Linked DNA regions of Homo sapiens: regions 1, 3 and 4 are each linked to region 2. The links are contacts of gene promoters, found by promoter capture Hi-C in human tissues and cell types (Jung and others, 2019). All regions are on one chromosome and are shown on one strand. The core of a region is centred on a gene start or on the middle of the fragment in contact, and the rest is flanking DNA. Distances in the headings are between cores, read along the strand shown. Region 1 has its middle 11 kb from the start of SPDYE1. Region 2 holds the start of YKT6 (YKT6 vesicular SNARE protein). Region 3 overlaps NUDCD3 (NudC domain containing 3). Region 4 overlaps NUDCD3 (NudC domain containing 3).

Region 1 (2,700 bases), core at 171-2,670, 210 kb before region 2:
TCATTGCTCCTGCTCCCCATCACTCTCCCCCTCCACCCTCCACACCTCAGGACCCCGCTCAAACATTATCTGCCTGTCTCCCCTGATCAAAACCCACTCCCGGCTCCCATAGGCTGCAGGATACAGCCCAGTTCCTCAGCTAGGCACCTGGGGCCCCTTGCCTGGCCTGGCTGCATGCACCCCTCCTGCTCCTCCTGCCCCTCCTGCCCCCACACCTCCCCACCCCCTTTTTATCACTCCCTCTCCCCCTCCTCCCCAAATCCCACCAGGGCTAGGTCTCCCCTTTTCTCTAGGAAGCCTTGTGGACACTCTCTGTGCCCCAGGCTCAGGCACCTGAGCTCTGTATGAAACCCTGACACCCCCCCCTTTTTTTTTTTAAATGGAGTCTCACTCTGTCACCCAGGTTGGAGTGCAGTGATGCAATCTCAGCTCACTGCAACCTCCACCTCCCAGGTTCAAGCCGTTCTCCTTCCTCAGCCTCCTGAGTAGCTGGGATTACAAGCACGTGCCACCACACCCAGCTAATTTTTTGTATTTTTAGTAGAGCTGGGGTTTCACTATGTTGGCCAGGCCGGTCTTGAACTCCTGACCTCAGGTGATCTGCGGGCCTCAGCCTCCCAAAGTGCTGGGATTACAGGCGTGAGCCACTGCACCCGGCCTGTATGGCGTCTTGAGGCAATGCTCAGAGCTTGGTGTGAAAGCAATTCACCTCCTCCTTGGGCGCCTCCCCGACTGGGGTGTCCGCAGGCGGCAACCACTTGCAATCCCAGATGCTGCCACCAGGGGGTGCACAGTACCCGCTTGGAAGGTGGGCAGGGGCGGGCGGGGAGGAACTAGAGAGGGAGGGGTTAATGCCCAAGGGCCCCGCCCCTCCCAAGAGGCATGGGCGGTCTCAGCCCGGTCCACTCACCAGCTGTATATGAGCACAGCCAGGAGGACCGTGAGGACGACGGCCAGGAGGATAGACAGGATGGCGATGATGACCACGGTGCCCGGGCTCTGGGGGCCAGGGACAGCCCGAAGTGCCTGGGCTGAGGGCAGTGATGGGGGCCGCATAGGCGGGCAGGAAAAGAAATTTTACCTGACCGGAAGGGGCCCTTGGGCAGAATCCAGACCAATCACCGCCCTGCCTCCCCTACCACCACCCAGGCCTGGGGGAAGGGGGTGGCTGGGGGAGGGGCGCCTGCAGATTGCAAGATGGTTGGCTGCCTCTGACTGAGTGGTGAGCTGACCTGTTCCCCCAGCCCATCCTCAGTCCTCAGGACCCCCAGGCCCCAGCCCCCTGCCCCTACTGTTTGACCGGAGCCTCTGGCCCCTACCTTGCTGCAGGCGAGTGTTGCTGGACCACTTTGTTTCAGCCACGGGTCCTTTGTCATTCATCACCAGGAACTTCACCCTGAATGGGAGACCCAGCATTGGCCATGGGGGTCCCCCGGAGTCCTGAAACCATCAGACTTGGTGCCTGCAAGTCTGTCCCCTGGAGTCCCAGGCCCTGGCGAGAGCAGCCCGGGGAGGGGGCCGGAGGCTGGGGCGAAAGAGCCCAACAGAATGGGTTCAAATCTAGGTGTGACATTTCCAGTGGTGTGACGTCCCTCCCCCTCTCTGGGCTTCTGTGTCCTCATTTGGGAAAGGTAGGGGGTGAGTATTAGATCTCTCAGAACTGAACATGCGTGAATCAAGCATTTAGTGAGGGGAGACCCTGTCTGGATGGAGAGACGCCACCTGAGTGGTCCACATGGCCTGTGGGGACTGGGGCTTGAGGTGGGGAACCTTCTGCTCAAGAAAAGCAGGATAGGCCAGGCATGGTGGCTCACGTCTGTAATCCCAGCACTTTGGGAGGCCAAGGTGGGCAGATCACTTGAAGCCAGGAGTTGAGACCCGCCTGGCCAACATGGTGAAACCTCATCTCTACTAAAATTACAAAAATTAGCCAGGCATGGTGGCAGGTACCTGGCCAACATGGCGAAACCCTGTCTCTACTAAAAATACAAAAATTAGTCGGGTGTGGTGTCAGATGCCTGTAATTCCAGCTACTCGTTAGGCTGAGGCTGGAGAATCGCTTGAACCCAGGAGGCACAGGTTGCAGTGAGCCGAGATCACACCACTCTACTCCAGCCTGGGTCACAGAGCAAGACTCCATCTCAAAAAAAAAAAAAAAAAGAAGAAGAAGAAGACGACGAAGAAGAAGAAAAGGAAAAAAAAAAAAAAAGAAGGATAATTCATGTAATTCATGAAGGCCTCCCCAGCCCCTGCCTGCTGCTTCCTCTTCCCTTTGGCCAAGCAGGAGCAGGGGACCCAGGCATCCTGCTGGGGCCCTGGTGAGCCTCGTAGGAGCTGCCCCAGGCTCCGGCTTGGGTGCATGCGGGCAGGAGCCAGGGCCTGGCAGAGCCGCTCACCTGTAGGGGCTCGGTCCTGGTAGGGGATGGTTGCAGCCAATTTTTGTTGGTTGGCAGTGGGTATCATTGCCAACACGGAGGACATGGAGCTGGCCTCTGGCCTGGTACAGCACCCGGTTGGCCCTCAGTGTGAGATAGTAGCCCCTCTGGGAGAAGTTGGCAGGAGCAGGGATGTCCTGGTTTGTCCGTGGGGCCGTGAAGCTCTGGGTGGCTAAGGGTGGCACCATGGTCAGACAGGTCACACAACAGGATCCCACCCTCACCTTACCAAGCCTGACAGCCCTCCCCAGCCCCATCCCCTGCA
Region 2 (2,700 bases), core at 173-2,672:
GTCTGTTATTGGTGTATAAGACTGCTTGTGATTTTTGCACATTGATTTTGTATCCTGAGACTTTGCTGAAGTTGCTTATCAGCTTAAGGAGATTTTGGGCTGAGACGATGGGGTTTTCTAGATATACAATCATGTCATCTGCAAACAGGGACAATTTGACTTCCTCTTTTCTTAATTGAATACCCTTTATTTCCTTCTCCTACCTGATTGCCCTGGCCAGAACTTCCAACACTATGTTGAAAAGGAGTGGTGAGAGAGGGCATCCCAGTCTTGTGCCAGTTTTCAAAGGGAATGCTTCCAGTTTTTGTCCATTCAGTATGATATTGGCTGTGGGTTTGTCATAGATAGCTCTTATTATTTTGAGATACGTCCCATCAATACCTAATTTATTGAGAGTTTTTAGCATGAGGGTTGTTGAATTTTGTCAAAGGCCTTTTCTGCATCTATTGAGATAATCATGTGGTTTTTGTCTTTGGTTCTGTTTATATGCTGGATTACGTTTACTGATTTTCGTATGTTGAACCAGCCTTGCATCCCAGGGATGAAGCCCACTTGATCATGGTGGATAAGCTTTTTGATGTGTTGCTGGATTCGGTTTGCCAGTATTTTACTGAGGATTTTTGCTTCAATGTTCATCAAGGATATTGGTCTAAAATTCTTTTTTTGTTGTGTCTCTCTCTGCCACCCTTTGGTATCAGGATGATGCTGGCCTCATAAAATGAGTTAGGGAGGATTCTCTCTTTTTCTTTTGATTGGAATAGTTTCAGAAGGAATGGTACAAGCTCCTCCTAAAATGTGGCACATATACACCATGGAATACTATGCAGCCATAAAAAATGATGAGTTCATGTCCTTTGTAGGGACATGGATGAAGCTGGAAACCATCATTCTCAGCAAACTATTGCAAGGACAAAAAACCAAACACCGCATGTTCTCACTCATAGGTGGGAATTGAACAATAAGAACACATGGACACAGGAAGGCGAACATCACACACCGGGGACTGTTGTGGGGTGGGGGGAGGGGGGAGGGATAGCATTAGGAGATATACTTAATGCTAAATGACGAGTTAATGGGTGCAGCACACCAACATGGCACATGTATACATATGTAACAAACCTGCACGTTGTGCACATGTACCCTAAAACTTAAAGTATAATAATAAAAAAAATGCTTACTTTAAAAAAAGAAAGAAAAGAAAAAAAAAAAAAAGAAGGGTTCAGGCCGCTGTGGGAGGCCCAGCACCACCCAGCACAAGACAGTACGGTATCCCGCCGCGCGCCCGACTCCACCTGGCGAGCAGGGAGGGGCCAAGCTTACGCGAGGCGTGGCATCCCGCCCCTCGCTGCATTGTACTTCCGGGCTCACATTTCTGCATCCGGAGTATGAGAACCCTCAACCAGGCTGACCGGATCCGGAAGTGGATTGCGAGCCAGGAGGAGGAAGCCGGCGGTGGCCCCGTCAGCAGCCGGCTGCTGAGAGGCCGGTAGGCGGCGGCGGTCCCGAGGGGCGGCGGCCGCGCTGCTCCCTGAGAACGGGTCCCGCAGCTGGGCAGGCGGGCGGCCTGAGGGCGCGGAGCCATGAAGCTGTACAGCCTCAGCGTCCTCTACAAAGGCGAGGCCAAGGTGGTGCTGCTCAAAGCCGCATACGATGTGTCTTCCTTCAGCTTTTTCCAGAGATCCAGGTGAGCGGCACAGGCTGGTGGGCCGTGGCGGTCGGGCGGAGAGGACTGGGGTGGGGGTCCGAGTCGGAGTGGGCCTGGGGTCGGCGGAGGGATGAGGGGAGGGTGGAGGAGGCCAAGGGTAGGGGCAGGGCGGGGTGGCCGAGTGCCCGGGGTCTGAGAAGGCTGGTGTCCGAGTCAGAGGCGGGGCGGGGTGGGGAGGGCCCGGGGTCTGCTGTCCGGGCTTGGTCTCCTATAATGGAATCTGGCCGTGGACTCTACCTTTGAGGAACCAACATTAGCTCTTTAAGAGCTTATACCATTCTAGAATATAGTTCTCTACTCAGTGTTTTTCAAATTTCTGTCGTGTAAAAATTTTAAGGAGACTGTGAAGTAGTGCAGATTTCCAAGCTTCATGCCAAGATGTTCTGAATTAGTAGATTGAGGCCTCGGTATTTATATTTTAGACCAACACTTCCCACCCAGTGATTCTGACTCTGGGAGCTTGGGTGCCGCATCTTGAGAGCCATATTTTGATTTTCTTGCGGGGCTTCCCAACAATTCTGTATGAGAGATAGTGATATACTTTTTTTTGTTTGTTTTTAATGGGTGAAGTCACTGAGGTACCAAGAGGTTATATCACAACCAGCTAGAACTGAAAGCCAGGTTTAACGCTTTTTAGTTGGACACTAGTGGTACAAAAGGATTCCACACGGAAGATGCAAATGAAGCATGGGATCTGTAGGGCTTACAGGCTTTTACTTGTTTCTGGGGCGCTTTAATTGCTGGAACGTGTTAGAAGTAACACAGACACTTCCAGACCATTCGTGGGAGGGATTGGGGTGACTCAGGCACGAAAGAAGGAGGACCCTACATGGTCGGTATCTATGGTCATCTTGTCTCAAAATCTGATGGAATCTGCCGTTTGGATTCTGTTTTCCCTGCTTCAGTGCAGCTGGTTCTTGATGAGAGTTCTTTGCCAAGGACTTGCTGGATGTAAAAAAAAAAAAATGTTATTTTGTTGAAACTTTCTGCTTCTT
Region 3 (2,700 bases), core at 1-2,500, 180 kb after region 2:
TGTCCTCTGGTAGACCCTTACCTGCCTGTGTCTTGCACAAAGTGCACACTGGGAGGCAAGAGCCTGTCTCTGCAGTAAGAAGGGCTTGGGGCAGTGCTCCGCTGGCAGGCAGACAAGGCAGGCAGGGCCCCAGCCCAATGCCTGAGTCAGCAGGCTCCTAACAGCCTGAGTGACCTCCTCATAGCATGGGGTCAGTGCAGCGGCAATGTCTGGGTTGTTGAGGGTTTTGATGGGTGATCAATGCTGGAGGATCCTCCCTCTGCCTTCCCCATCCAACACAGATCATCTCCAATGTGCCAGACCTGTGCTGGGCAACAAGGTTGGCTGAGATGGCCTGAGACAGGGTCCCTTGATGAACAGTCCACTGGGAATGGGGCCTGCAGTGGCCCTGGATGATTTCAGTATCTGCCACTCACCTTGGTCATGATGCCACAGAGAGTGTGGCATGGCCAGGACTGTACCTGGGGCAGATGGTCTTGCTCTTTGGTTCTGGGGAGGAGCGCAAAGTGACTGGGCTCAGGTGAAGGAGCTGTTGGCTTATGAGGAGGCTGCTCCAAGAAGCAAATAGGAGACAAGGAACCACTGGCCTGCAGATGGGGCAGGATCCTGGACCTGGGCCCCCCGAGTCACCAGCCACATGGCCTTGGGAGTGTTACTTACTCCTGTGATTGTAGCACAATGAGGGGTTAGACTACAAAGTCCCTCAGGCCCTGACCAGCTCTGGGGAAGAAGGCCTAGGACTGAGAGAGGCAGCAGGGAGGCTGGCCAGGGTCACCTCCCAGGTCCAGGCAGCTTTCCTGCAAGTGTTTCCTAAGCTGTCCTTCTCCAGGGAGAATAGCCTCAGCCCTGCCTGACAGGAGGCGGCATACACCTGAGCGCCTGACAGTACCCTCGTGAACCTGCCTGAGGGTGGCCACATTCCCACACCCCATGTGTGCCTATCTCCATCAGCACTGAGAAGACAGCAAACGCCAGCTTGCCAGGGGTTTACCCAGAAAGCCCAGCGCATACCCCCAGAGTGTTCTGGCAGACCTGTGCCAGCTGGGTTCAGTGACAGTTCATCCTGCCATGGGCTCTGGTCTCCCCATCACCCTCTGAGGGGGAAGCAGGAAGTTGTGAGGGGTAGCCGGGCCTGACCTCTCTTCCCTGGCACGATGCTGTCTCCCTGTGCAAAGTGGGGACTTCAGGCATTTGGTGTGGAGGAATGGGTGGTGGGATTGAAAACCCCTACCAGACCCCTGTCACACCAAGGAGCCCAGCGATGGGGGGGTTTCTTCCCTCCCTCTGAGGTAAGACCAATCTGTTAAACTTTCAGTACTAAAAAATAAAACCGAGTGGGAGGAAGGTGAGGACTGAAAAACTACATATCAGGTATCATGCTGATTACCTGGGTGACAAAATTATCTGTACACCAAACCCCTATGATCCAATTTACCCATGTAACAACCCTTGAACCTAAAGTTGGAAAGAAAAAAAAAGGTAAAATTAACAAATCCATATTAGTGTGAGCTGGGTGAGTAGTTTAGTCTGAAATGACAGAATATTCATTTTTCGTCTCTCTGAGATAGTGACCACACTGTCCTCACCAGGACTGGCAGGGGAAGCCCCAGGGCTTTGTGACCCTGTCCCTATGGGGCACCCTGGCGTCCAGTGGGCACTCCCCAGGGCAGCAGCCTGGTTTAAATGCCTGTTCCCCAGACCCCACAGTCAGACGGTAGAGAGGAGCCTCAGGGACATAGCCCAGTTCTTCAGGACCGTGGGCCACATGGGCTGCTTGACCTCTGACCACCAAGGAGGGAGTTTCTCAAGGACTGGCCAGGTTCTGTGCTGACAACTTCGTGCTTTTCATCGACAAAGCGAGTCATGCTGTCCCTTCCCCAGCTGAGCTGGCTGCCAACAGGCCCAGTGGAGAGCAGATTTGAGGTGGGGGTGAGGTCTGTTCCCCAAGCGCAGTGTTCTGGGCAGTGAGTTCTCTGTGCAGCAGCTGACGCCTCTTGGACACATTTCCACACAAAACACTTCTCAACTGTTCTCCCTCCTGCACTCTTCAGGGGCAAATACGCCTCTCCTTTCTGGCGGGTTATTTCTGGCCCTGGGAGTATGCTAGGCAATTCTAAGGATTGCCTTTGAAACAGTCTTTATTCAGCCAAGTACTTCTCACACCCCTAGGTCCTGTCCCCAGGGGTGAGCAGGGTCAGAGGAGGCTGGAGATGGGGTGGGCACAGAGAAGGAGAGTCAAAGATCTGACTGAGGAAGAAGCAGGTGGCCAGCCACCTGGGAGACTTCTGTGTCAGACACGGCGTTATGTCCTGGAGGAAGCCCATTGCGAGGGCTCAGCAAAGTTAACAGCAGGTATGCACCTGGAGACCAAGGAGGGCCTTGGAGCCTGGTGGGCAAAGGTGGCCCTTCAGTGGAATCATTCCCAACTCTGCACTCACCCTAAGCTTTCCAGTAACTACAGAATTCCAGAACCTGTTTGAAAGGATGTAAGATCTATAGCTACATTCTTTTTCTCCCCACTGGTCAAAATCTTACAGGATTTCTAAAGCTGTATTGAGATCTTGCCCAGTGCATTCAGACCAGATGGGAAACAACCCCTAAGAATTCCCCATGCTGGTGTTTGCTGTGTACGTTGGCCTGGGACCTCAAGGCTAGAATGCAACAATAATGACCATGCACAGACAGAACTGTCTCAGCAGC
Region 4 (2,700 bases), core at 8-2,507, 240 kb after region 2:
TTTTTTTTTTTTTTTTGAGACAGAGTCTCACTCTTTGGCCCAGGCCGGACTGCAGTGGCGCTATCGCGGCTCACTGCAAGCTCCGCCTCCCGGGTTCACGCCATTCTCCTGCCTCAGCCTCCCGAGTAGCTGGGACTACAGGCGCCCACCACTGCGCCTGGCTAAATTTTTTTTCTTTCTATTTTTAGTAGAGAAGGGGTTTCACCGTATTAGCCAGGATGGTCTCGATCTCCTGACCTCGTGATCCACCCACCTTGGCCTCCCAAAGTGCTGGGATTACAGGGGTGAGCCACCGCACCTGGCCTCCCCTTTTCTTTATAGCACCTTCATACTTAACACCATGACATCAAATGACAACGTATTCACACAGAAAGCAGGCATTTTGTTTACTGGTTTATTTATGTTTACTTATGCAACCAAGAGAACCTATATGGCTGTCATGGGAGCCCTACCTTCTAGAAAGAGAACAACCACATCCAGCACAGTTTCTAACACACTCTGCATACAGGTGGGATGAGCTTTGAACACATTCAATATAAAAAAAAAAAGAACAGGTAACAGGTACAATGAGACTGCATGCTAATCTTAAAGAAGACATTCCACAACTTGTTACCTTTAAATTATCAGCTTTCCTATTACATTAAACAAGATTCAAGTAGCCAAAGTCTGAATTTTGTTTTCAATTTTACAAGAAATCTTTTTTTTTCTTTTCTTTTTTCTTTTCTTTTTTTGAGATGGGGTCTCGCTCTGTCGCCCAGGCTGGAGTGCAGTGGCGCCATCTTGGCTCACTGCTACCTCCACCTCCCGGGTTCAAGCAATTCTCCTGCCTCAGTCTCCTCAATAGCTGGGATTACGGGCATGCACCATCACACCCAGCTAATTTTTGTATTTTTAGTAGAGACGGGGTTTCGCCATGTTGGCCAGGCTGGTCTCGAACTCCTGGCCTCAAGTGATCCACCTGCCGCAGCCTCCTTCTAAATGCTGGGATTACAGGCGTGACCCACAGTGCCTGGCCCAATTTCACAGGACTTCTAAGAGCTGGATGCTGTTTAGGCTGAGGTCCTTGACTGTCTAGGTGAAGACCTGGGGCCCAGGTGCTGCTCGGGATAGTGGAGAAGAGACCCCACCTCAGCTCAAGCCCCATCTTCAGTTCTCCTGGGAGGTGGTTTACTGTAAAGTCAGTCTTCTTTATGAGCACCAGCCTCCTCTCATTATACTCTGAAATGCCTGTGTTTGCAAGCAAAAATGTACAACTGGAATTCAAGAGTATAGTCTATGAAATTCTCATAAAAGTGAGATTCCAGGTGTGTTCATCTAAGACTAATGCATTTGGATACCTCTCAGCTTCAAAAGACGCTATCATGTGAAAAGGCTAGAGCTTTTTCTATGAGCAAAACCGAAGGTTTGCTGTATTGAGAACAGAATTTCTGGAATGAGAAGGCTCAGGCCAGTGCAAGGAGGGCTACAGACTCAGGGTCCCTGCCCGCCACTTTAACCTTCTCATCTCACAGGTTATCAACAGATGATAGGATAGGAGGCATCCTATCACCTGTTCCTTGGCCTGTAAATCTAAAAAGAGAAAGCCAGAAAAAGTAAAGCAGCCCCTCTGCCCCTCTTCTTTCTGAGAAAGCATCCAGATAATCACAAAGGTTTGCTCCCTCCAAGACCTGTCCGAGGTGTCCCAGGCCTGGGGACAGGGGAAGGTGGATGTAAAGAACAGAAAGCTTTTCTGGCTGGGAGACAGGGCCCAATCCCTGAGAAGCCTCACACAAGTGCAGCATTTATATACATTCACAAAGAGAAAACCTCAACAAACTCGAGTTTGCTATTTAATAGAATCTTACACTAAGTCCTTTTGGTAAAGCAAAGAATTACTTTGACAGAGCAAAACTCCTCTACAAATTGAATACTTACATAACACCCCAACTTTAACGTTAATTAGCACGCACCCACTATCAGTAATGCTGAGTCCTGTAGGCCTGGGAGAAGCTCCCACTCCCCTCTGTGAGACCCTGTGCCGTAAGTATCACTTGGTCTCTTGGATCCCCAAGCCCTTCTTACCCACTGATACCTTGCCTCATGCCTCACTCTTCCTTAAAATCAGTCAAACACAAGGACTCACAACTCTTCTTTCAACCAGCCTTCTGTTCAGGCTGCTGCCTTCTTCCTTTTATTCCCAGCGAAACATCTTGAGTCAGTTTCTTCCCACCTTACCTTCCAATATGCCCCACTGTGAAATCTCTGCCAATCACAAATGACTTCCAAGTATCATAACCAAACTTGCCTTTCTGAATTTCTGTCCATCTGATACCTCCACAACATCTGACATGAATGTCCCACCCTTGGACTACCCAGGCTCTCCCTCTGCTCCACCTCCACCTGTTCTCCCTCTCCTCCAACTCACTGGTTTCCTTTGGCTGACCCTTCCTGCTGCCTGCCCCTTACACTCCAAAGAACACAGTGCTATCTCTATATCTTCCGCACATGCACCCCTGAACTGCAACAGCTGCCTGGTATGTATCCTTTCTACATCCCCTACCTTGTCCACCCTGACTGACTGCTGCCTATTAACTTTCTGACAAATCTGAGCAAACACTCTTGAGTTAGATAAGTTGCCCCAGTTTCTAAAGATAAGCCCCAATTCTTTAGCATGAATCAGGGTCTTGGCAGGGCAGAGACATGCACAGTGTGGTCCCTGCC

The links. Contacts are between HindIII fragments. The study calls those that stand out against the background at their distance.
Region 1: a contact is called between a fragment that was not itself captured here and the fragment with the promoter of YKT6 in region 2, in 2 of the 25 tissues and cell types used here (lymphoblastoid cells and mesenchymal stem cells).
Region 3: a contact is called between a fragment that was not itself captured here and the fragment with the promoter of YKT6 in region 2, in 3 of the 25 tissues and cell types used here (dorsolateral prefrontal cortex, lymphoblastoid cells and mesenchymal stem cells).
Region 4: a contact is called between a fragment that was not itself captured here and the fragment with the promoter of YKT6 in region 2, in 2 of the 25 tissues and cell types used here (dorsolateral prefrontal cortex and spleen).

The regions. Positions count from the first base shown.
Region 1 is chr7:43,985,282-43,987,981 of GRCh38, forward strand. It overlaps the pseudogene POLR2J4. Among named protein-coding and RNA genes, the nearest start is that of SPDYE1, 11 kb to the right of the region's middle. RefSeq lists a silencer at 682-731. The HindIII fragment of the contact is 3,948 bases long and covers 1-2,700 here.
Region 2 is chr7:44,199,556-44,202,255 of GRCh38, forward strand. It overlaps YKT6 (YKT6 vesicular SNARE protein), which reads left to right and starts at 1,423. Exons shown (of 7, transcript NM_006555.4): 1 at 1,423-1,684. The coding sequence starts at 1,581. RefSeq lists a silencer at 1,530-1,599. The HindIII fragment of the contact is 4,070 bases long and covers 943-2,700 here.
Region 3 is chr7:44,380,867-44,383,566 of GRCh38, forward strand. It overlaps NUDCD3 (NudC domain containing 3), which reads right to left. Exons shown (of 6, transcript NM_015332.4): 6 at 1-2,700. Among named protein-coding and RNA genes, the nearest start is that of CAMK2B, 57 kb to the left of the region's middle. The HindIII fragment of the contact is 4,191 bases long and covers 1-2,700 here.
Region 4 is chr7:44,442,698-44,445,397 of GRCh38, forward strand. The region is part of intron 2 of NUDCD3 (NudC domain containing 3); the gene reads right to left. Among named protein-coding and RNA genes, the nearest start is that of NUDCD3, 47 kb to the right of the region's middle. The HindIII fragment of the contact is 5,034 bases long and covers 1-2,700 here.